Linked DNA regions of Homo sapiens: regions 2 and 3 are each linked to region 1. The links are contacts of gene promoters, found by promoter capture Hi-C in human tissues and cell types (Jung and others, 2019). All regions are on one chromosome and are shown on one strand. Each heading gives the region's core, a stretch centred on a gene start or on the middle of the fragment in contact. The rest is flanking DNA. Distances are from core to core; before and after follow the strand shown.

Region 1 (2,861 bases), core at 245-2,744:
CCTCCCGGGGCGATCGCCTGCGCTAATTGCTCCAGGGCGCTTTCCAAGTTCAAAAGTTCACCTTTTACGACCTCACAAAAGCTCCTAACACGTTACCAATAAAAACATTCCGCGGCAAACACCGAGGAGGAAAATATCAAACAGATACAAATAAAACACCCCGCAGGGGGAGGGAGCGAAGGGGAGGAGGGCGAGGAAGCCCCGAGGAACCTGAGGACCCGGCCCGGGCGAGGGGGCGAGGGACGAGCGGTAGGAAGGGCCGGGCCAGGTGAGGGATTCTCAGCTCCCAAGGTCCCGGATCGGGACAAGAAAGAGGAGAACTGAGACTAAGAGGTGGGGACCGGGACCTGCCGGGCAGAAGCCGGGAGGAGGCAGGTGTCCGGGGCCCCGGGGCGGGCTGGAGCCCTCGGCCAGGGAAAGCCGTTGCCTGGCGGAGAGGGGAGCTGAGCAGGGGCGGAGACCGGCCAGAGCGCGCGGGGCGTTGAGGAAGGTGAGGCGCAGGGGAAGCAGGAGGCGCGAAGGGGTCCGAAAAAGGAAACGACTGGGGGATGTCTAGCGAACGGGGGTTCGGCAGAGGTGGGGGGCTCGTAGTATTCAAGGAAGAACGCTCGAGGCTGCAGAAGAGGAAAACGCTCTAGAAAGCTGAGCGGTACAAGGGTGCTGTGGAGTCGGGTCAACAGGGCAAGAAGGGAGCGTCCTCGGTGGGAGGAGGAACCCCTGTAGGGGAAAAGAGAGGCTCTGCGTTAAGGGAACCCGAGTGAGGGGATGCCCCCACTGACGGACCGCGGTGGGGACTTCCAACCTGAGGAGCCCGGGGGGAGGGGAAGGTTCGGTGCTGGGAAGACAGGGGGAGGGGACCCGGGGGGAGGAGGGAGGATTGGTGCTGAGGGGACGGGGGGAGGGGAAGCCTGTGCAGAGGGGACGGGGGGAGGGGGAAATGAAGCTCGGTGCCCAGGGACCCGGGCAGGGGGAGGGTCCGCGCAGAAGGGAACAGGGACGAAGGAGGAGGATCCACCCTGAGCGAGACCGGGGAGGAGAGGGAGGGTCCGCGCCAACGGGGAACGGGGTGAAGGGCCACCCTAAGGGGCCGCGGGGCCGCTGCGGCTTCCCAGGGCGAGGGTCGGCAGAGAGGAGGGGGATCCCTGGCGGAGGCTCAGGAAGCCGGTTCCTGCCTGGCCCGGGCGTCGCAGGCCCCTCACCCACCGTTGCGCGGCGGCGGAGGGAGCGCGGCGGGAGGCTCCAGGAACCCCGCCGAGCCCCCGCCGCCTCCCCCTCCGCTAGGCGGCGGTTCGTCCCGCTCCATGCGGTGGTGCCTAGGGTCCGCGCCGGGTTTGTTGCTCCGCCATGACCGGCGCCCTAGTCGCCGTGGTCGTCGTCCGCCGAGGGGAGGAGGTTGTCAGGAGCCCGCGAGCTCCCGGCCGCGGCTCTCTCTGGGCCCCGAGCCGCCCGGCTCCGCGCCGCTCCGCGCCCCTCCGCGCCGCGCCCCCTCAGCACTGGCCAGCTCCCTCCCCTGACGTCACACGCCGCTGCCGCGCAAGGCCCTGCGGGGCACGCTGGAAGTTGGAGTCCGCTCAGCGAGGCCGGCCACGCCGACCGCACCAACTGAAGGGGTGGAAGGAGGGATAAGAAGTCCTGAGAAGGGAAAGCTAAAGTCTGTCAATATCAAGAACCATGACAAAGCGTTTGATGTCTATGTAGTAAGCGGATACTTCCGGGCCTTGTCTTGATTGTGATTTCTACCTGATCAAAGTTCCCTAAGAGTCCTCGTAACCCCCCACCCCAACAATGAGTCTTTGCGAGGAGGTGGATCGCGAGGCAGCCGGGTGAGCACGTGCAACGAAGCCCAGCCCTGTGGGCGGGGCCCTGGAGGCGGGGCTTGAAGGTACTCACGTGGGCCTCTCCCTGCCGCTGCGGGACAAATTGGACCGGAGATTAAAGGACCGGAGTTTAACTCGAGGTGACTGCGTTCGTATGCAAATGGAATATATAAAACTCTTCTTTCCGGGGTAGTCTTTAAAGACTTTTTACCTCCGGGTGGGCGGCAAAGACTAAAGTTTCCCCTCCTCCCCTTTCATTTTCCCCCTGCCCATAGAACAGATGGGCAAACTAAGCTCCGGGCCATTGGGGCTATTAAAGAAAGCCCTAGGCTCTTGACCCCAGGTGTCTTGAAACCTTCCGTTTAAGAGGGATCCCTTGCCCAGCCTTGTTTGCCTTCCCCTTTCCTCAGTTTCCCTATCTGTAAAAGGGGGTTGGAATAAGGACAGGATCAAGTTGGAAGATCGCAAACCCCTGCCCCTCCCACCTCAGTTTCCCGAAGCTTTCCGGAAGCAAAATCCCGAATTTTGCAGCGGCTCCCGGCCGAATCCACCCGCTGCGGCCACCAGGTGGCGCGCGGCCACCGGTCACTAGGCCCGCCGGGGTGTCCGTCTTCGGCGACCCCATCGGGAAAGGATTTCGCTGCTGCCGCCAAGGGTCTAAGGCCTACCTGGCCCACTTGAAGACAAAGAACGAGAACGTTGGTGCTTTGCCCACTTCTGCTCTGCCGGATTATGCTGCAGCTTCCTCGGTGGCCGCTCATTCGCCCTCTCCTGCCCCACCCGCCCCACCAATCCCTTAGCCCTTTTATTTTTTTTTTGCCTAATTTTAAGTCCTCGTCCTGGCATTCGCATCCCTGCTTGGCCTGACCCTTGCCCACATTTCGCACCATACCCCGTCCCTCACCTGCTACGAAAGTTGCAACGCTTCTCTGCACTTGGGGGCAACTGGACCTTACCAACCCTGGTGAAACTGTATTTCATACGTAATCTGGGAGACTTACATTAACGCTCTGCCGTCTAAACCTCATACCTGCTCTATGAGAT
Region 2 (2,861 bases), core at 236-2,735, 230 kb before region 1:
CTGGAATAAAAGCCGGCTTTGAGACCACAGACTCACAGACCCAAGAGTTTCAGCTTTCTTCCTCTCAAGGCCCCTTGCCAAGACTTTTCCTCACACTCCCACATCTAAATTTTTTTTTTTTTTTTTTTTGAGACGGAGTCTCACTCTGTCACCCAGAGCTGGAGTGCAGTGGCGCAATCTCGGCTCACCGCAACCTCAGCTCGCTGCAACCTCCACCTCCTGGGTTCAAGCAATTCTCCTGCCTCAGCTTACTGAGTAGCTGCGATTACAGGCGTGTGCCACCACACCCAGCTAATTTTTGTATTTTTAGTACACACGGGGTTTCACCATGTTGGCCAGCTCGTCTGGAACTCGTGACCTGGTGATCCGCCCACCTAGGCCTTCCAAAGTGCTGGGATTACAGGCATGAGCCACCACGCCCGGCTTCCTACATCTAGATTTACAAAGGGTTTGTGTGACCTCCTTGTGGGTAGATATTTTAATCTCCTCTTCTGAAACTGGAGACTAGCTTAAGAAATCTCAGGATACCTTCCTGGGAGGTCTAAGCTTGATAACACTCAAATCGTTTATGCTCTAGGCCAAAGGAGTAATGGATGCAGCAATGGGTAGGCCCGAAGGCTGAACTGTTATCTCCTCAGGTAGAAGTGACTAAAGACTGAAAGAATACTCCTTCTACCCACTCAAGCCTGCACTTAAAGTGGTCACATGCCACCAGGCTAGCCATGGGGATGCTGGTGAGGGGTGCAGACAGGCTACAACCAGCCAGGGCTTTGTGAAGGAGCCTATATCCGATATATAACTATTCCCAGAATTACTGCTCATCTCTAGCATGGAAGTGCTCTGACCCATCCCAGCACCTGGCTTACCTAGGCCCAAGCAGAATCAAAGGCCCTTCTATCTCAATTCCATAGGAACTGGAAAGTAACCTCAACTCTATGAGAAAGGATGCTTAAGGAAAAAATAAGGGATCACTGGTTTCAAAGATAAGCACAGATTTGTCCCCTGACACTTGAGTCATTATCCCCCCAACTCATTCTGAAGCCACGGGTATAGGAGCCAGGGACGCGAGTGGGTGTGGGGTAGGGACACTTTGAGACTGCAAGGGGCCAAGAAGGGCGGAGCTCACTCACCCATCTTCAATCAACATGGGCGTGCCCAATGGTTCCAGGTCCTCGGCTGATAACAGCTGGTGAATCAGACTGTATGACTGGGGATCCAGGCTGCGAGCTTGTTGGGGCAGAAGTGGTGAGTGGCCAGAATAGCTAAAAAGGTGCGGTATATATTGGTAATGTGGAGGCACAGACATTCCCATGTACTGTTCCCTGAAGGCCATGAATCCATTCAGTTCCACAGACCTACTGGAGAGAAAAGTCTTGCGTCAAACAGAGCCATGGCAAGTCTAGTAATTACTCAAAGGAAGTGAGCCAGAAGGTGACTTTAGGTATTCTTTGAACATGAGGTATGTGTCTTCATCAAGCCAGGGGGCATAATTAATAGTTAAATTCATGTCTCTCCTACTAGATTCCCATCTGTAAGACAAAGACTCTATGGGTATATGAATGTTGGGGTCGCCACTGGACACTCAGTGCATGGCAGAGTAGGTAATGAATAAATATTGGTTGAATGAATTCTTTGTATAGGTGCCATGTCTGGACAGTTTTTTAACAGATACTTGTAGACTATGATGACAAAGTAGGTATTTATATTATAATACTGCTAGGAAAACTAAGGCACAGACAGGCTAAGTCCTGGCTAGGCCACAAAACAAATCCAGCATCTAGCAAGGAACCCGGCATGTGGCAACAACCCCCTAAATAGTCCAAGGAAAGAACAAACGAAGGGGCACCTGAATGGGATAAAAGCTTTAATTAAATATGAAGACAAAGGTAGATTTTTGCCTTCCTTTCCTTTCTTGGAGAAAGCTAACCACTCTGTCAACTAATTAAAAAAAAAAAAAAAACCTAAGCCAGCCACAGTGGTGTGCACCTACAGTTTCAGCTACTTGGGAGGCTGAGGTGGAAGGATCACTTAAGGCTAGGAATTTGAGACAAGCCTGGGCAACATAGCAAGACTCCATCTCTTTTTTTAAAAAAAAAAGTATTTAATTAACAACGACAACAACAAAAAAAGACAGAGTCTTGCCATGTTGCCTAGGCTGGTCTTGAACTCCTGGACTTAAGCAATCTACCCACCTTGACCTCCCAAAGTGCTGGGAATACAGATGTGAGCCACCATGCCTGGCATCTCTTAAGAAAAAAAAAAATCTTCCAGCTTTTGCCTAAATGTATCTCCTATAACTGGGGTTGGCAAACTTTGGCTTGCAAGCTAAATCCAGCCCACTGCCTATTTTGGAACACAGCCATGCTCACTGGTTCACATAATGTCCATGGCCATAGCTGTTTTCACACTACAAAGGCAGAATGGAGAAGCTGAGATCCAAACCATTAGGCCCGGAAAGCTGAAAATATTTACTATCTGGCCTTTGCAGAAAAAGTTTGTCAATCCATATCCTATAAGAAAGGTTTCTGGGGAAAGGAAAGCTTCCCTAATAGCTGAAGGATCTATTTCACACTCGACAACTAACTAAAGATATGCTTGAACCAAGAGTTTCTAAGTTTGTATTCTCTGATAGCAGCAAATTTGACTGGCTTAAAAAGCCTTCAATGTTTCTTAAAATTTATAAAGTGAAAAACATTGACTCTTGTGAGGCAGAGAAATTACAGTTTAATTCAAAACTGTCAAAAAGGTTTATTTCAGTGATAAAATAAATGAGGGAAAATGGCAACATTTAAAATGTTATTCTGTTAGGTGAAGAATGCACGGGCATGGATAGAAGCTATAGCACTTTATCAGTCTGCAGA
Region 3 (2,861 bases), core at 166-2,665, 180 kb before region 1:
AACTCATTTCAATTCAAGCCACATTAAGCATGTTCTGGGCACTCTTGACAGTTTTCTTATTTAATTCCCATAGCGGTCCTGTGAGATAGGTATTACTATCCTCTGTTGCATATATAAGGAAATTGAGGTTCATAGAGGTCAAGTGACTTGGCCAAGTGACAGAGTCAAGCTGATGAGGTTCTTTCTCCAACACCAGGAAGCCTGTAGCAAAGCCATATACGTAGCCAAGTTTTTATGAGCCATCTGGGCAACAGGGGACGAGTCCTTGCCACACAGACCAAGGGATCCATCCAGAGGCAACAGAAGCAGCAGTAGTTTTTGTTTTTTTGTTTTAATGGTTTAAAAATCCTACAGGAATTCTGATTGGTCCCACTAACAATCCATCGAGGCTCACCAGCCGGTTGACTCCTGACCTTCCATGCTTCTCATCCTAATTAATGCAAGGTCCTTGGATCACAGTGTGAGCATCAAGACCCTGTTAGAGTTAGCAATGACCTTTACATCTATCAGGCTTTTCAAAATATGTAAAACAGCTGTGCAGTGTGAACACCTCCCCCACCCCCCACCACACACCCTGACCAACTCTTAACCTTGAAATATGGGTAGATGCATTTTTCCTAATTATAGCGTTTTCCCCAAGTTTTTAGGAAATGACTTTTCACACAGCTAAAAACCATTTGAGATGTAGCTTTTCAATTGCCCAAGCAAACTACTGAGGCATGCAAAAAGAAGATTCTTGCAAATAGATTAATTTCCTCGGCTTAAAAAGAAACCCCAGTAGCAGGGGAACAGAAAAAAACGAATGATGTGAAAAAATTGGTGGTCGCGGGGTGGGAGATTGTTTGGTTGCCATATTTGTGCCTCTGATATCCTTTTGTTCTCCCACCTCATTGTATTAAGGATGCTAAATCAAACATGATTGCAGCGATGTTTGTGTGTGAAAATGACAAAAGCAATGGGCCAAAATCCCAACCTCATCTTGAACCCTGAGGACTTTTATGGCTTTTCCTTCACTAGGCCCTCCCCCTAATACACATTAAAGACCACATTGTTCAAAAGGGTCATGGTAGGTTTCATACCCCATTTTAACACAACGGAAATGGTAACTGAATTTCCAAGTTTTGTTAGTAATATTTGTATGTCCATGGAAAATGTCCATTAAAATAATCGATTCTTTGGTTTAAATATTAATGGAGAATTACAATATATCAGAGGGGCAGAATCAATTGTGTCAAGGAGGTACTGTTTGCGGTGATTAAATCAGATTTTCTTCCTGTACATCATTTTCCCCAGCAAAAGGGTACCGATTAGAGATGGGTTAAAAATATCCAGATGATGTGAGGCATCCAGATATTTTTCCTAGCCTCAAAATTGTCCAGATTATGTCAGTTTTCAACTCAAGAAGCCTAGAATAAACTAAACTTGCTAATTTCAAGCGCAGGTCTCCCCGCCTCCCCTTATTCCATTTGTCTGTCTGCAAGCCACATTATGGACCCCCAGTTCATTTATGCATTTATTCCTGGAAGATTTCAAGTTGGGAGAAGACTATTTAAGGCTGTTTAGGATTCCATTTTTCTCAGCTGTTACCAGTCAGTTGTCACCAGTACTTTGGAAGTTTAGTAGAAGAAAGGTGGCAATGACTCCATTACTCTTTCCAAATGCCATAAAGAATTTGCATCAAGAAAGTACCTAATGAATTAATGCCTTAGTCCTCTGGAAAAGGATACAGTAAAACAGGAATGTTACAGGGTTTGGGAAAGGGGAATCTGAAAAATGAAAATCTGGGCTGGAGTAAAAGAATAACAAACTTGGTAGTGTTTTAAATATCACAATTTCATTGGCGGAACTGCTCACTTTCCCAAGCTCAGGTGTTTTTGCTTAACACCCATATAACATGTATTAAGATGTGGCACGATATCACAACTTTAGTGCATTTAAAAATCAAATCTACAATTTTTGTAGAGTTCTTGACTATAAGTCTGGTTTAAATTATCTCAAAATAACACACTAGGAACATCTGTTTAGCTCAGTTGAAGTTTCGAGAGCCAATACCAGCTGTTCGGGGAGGGATTTCGCACATGTGTTACTCAAATCCTAACCAAATCTTAGTTTTTTCATTCCCTTAATGATGCCTCCAAAACCAACAGGGTAAAGCAAACATTAGAATAAAAAAGAAGAGAAAAAGGGAGGGAGGAAGAGAGCAGAGAGGGGGAGAGAGAGAAGAAAAAAGATTACTTACTCAATGCTTTGATGCATGTGACCAAGACCCAAATGATCACCCTCTCCAATTCAATACAGTATTAGCATGAGGACAAAAGGCATTTAAAAATCAATTTGGAGTTATTTTTAGTGGGGGTTGCCTAATCTTTGCAAGTTGAGGAATGAGAATATTCCCCAACGTTGAAAGGGCACTCAAGTATTTTTCTCCTTTAAGCGGCAATCTAATTTTCACAGAGAATTCATTCGGTGTCATTGTTTTGGTTTTAGGTGTCTGTCCTGCCAGGCAGGGGCTGTGCACAAGGGCTGCATCTATCTTGAAGTGTGCACAATGGCCTCTCTTACGGCTCTCTCTCTCTCTCTGTTATTGATCCTTACAGATGCTCCAAAGCCCTTCCCCCACCTTTCTCCAAATCCCAACCCCCATTCTGAAAGATAGCTTAAGAAATAAGACTTCCTGCCTAGCGACTGGCAGGGCTGAAAGACCAGATTGTATGACTCCACAGATCAGGCCTGCCACAGTGAAAGCTTGAATAGAGTTAACCCTCTGTGAACTAAAACAAAACATTTGTATGCCCAGCTGTGACAAAGGTTAATTTAAATGGACAAGGGCCCAATATCTAAAACCAGGCAATGCTTTTTTT

What was found. The method cuts DNA at HindIII sites, captures the fragments that hold promoters and counts their contacts. A contact is called where the count stands out against the background at its distance.
Region 2: a contact is called between a fragment that was not itself captured here and the fragment with the promoter of NR6A1 in region 1, in 1 of the 25 tissues and cell types used here (dorsolateral prefrontal cortex).
Region 3: a fragment that was not itself captured here is called in contact with the fragment with the promoter of NR6A1 in region 1 in 1 of the 25 tissues and cell types used here (lymphoblastoid cells).

What each region holds. Positions count from the first base shown.
Region 1 is chr9:124,769,817-124,772,677 of GRCh38, forward strand. It overlaps NR6A1 (nuclear receptor subfamily 6 group A member 1), which reads right to left and starts at 1,495. Exons shown (of 10, transcript NM_033334.4): 1 at 1,204-1,495. The coding sequence starts at 1,303. LOC124900274 (a long non-coding RNA gene) reads right to left here and starts at 664. Exons shown (of 2, transcript XR_007061773.1): 1 at 1-664. LOC107987126 (a long non-coding RNA gene) reads left to right here and starts at 1,541. Exons shown (of 2, transcript XR_001746926.3): 1 at 1,541-1,957. RefSeq lists silencers at 195-444, 985-1,564 and enhancers at 1,277-1,844, 1,635-1,894. The HindIII fragment of the contact is 6,332 bases long and covers 1-2,861 here.
Region 2 is chr9:124,536,962-124,539,822 of GRCh38, forward strand. It overlaps NR6A1 (nuclear receptor subfamily 6 group A member 1), which reads right to left. Exons shown (of 10, transcript NM_033334.4): 6 at 1,131-1,358. Among named protein-coding and RNA genes, the nearest start is that of NR5A1, 31 kb to the left of the region's middle. The HindIII fragment of the contact is 3,760 bases long and covers 1-2,861 here.
Region 3 is chr9:124,591,231-124,594,091 of GRCh38, forward strand. The region is part of intron 2 of NR6A1 (nuclear receptor subfamily 6 group A member 1); the gene reads right to left. Among named protein-coding and RNA genes, the nearest start is that of MIR181A2HG, 66 kb to the right of the region's middle. The HindIII fragment of the contact is 3,555 bases long and covers 1-2,861 here.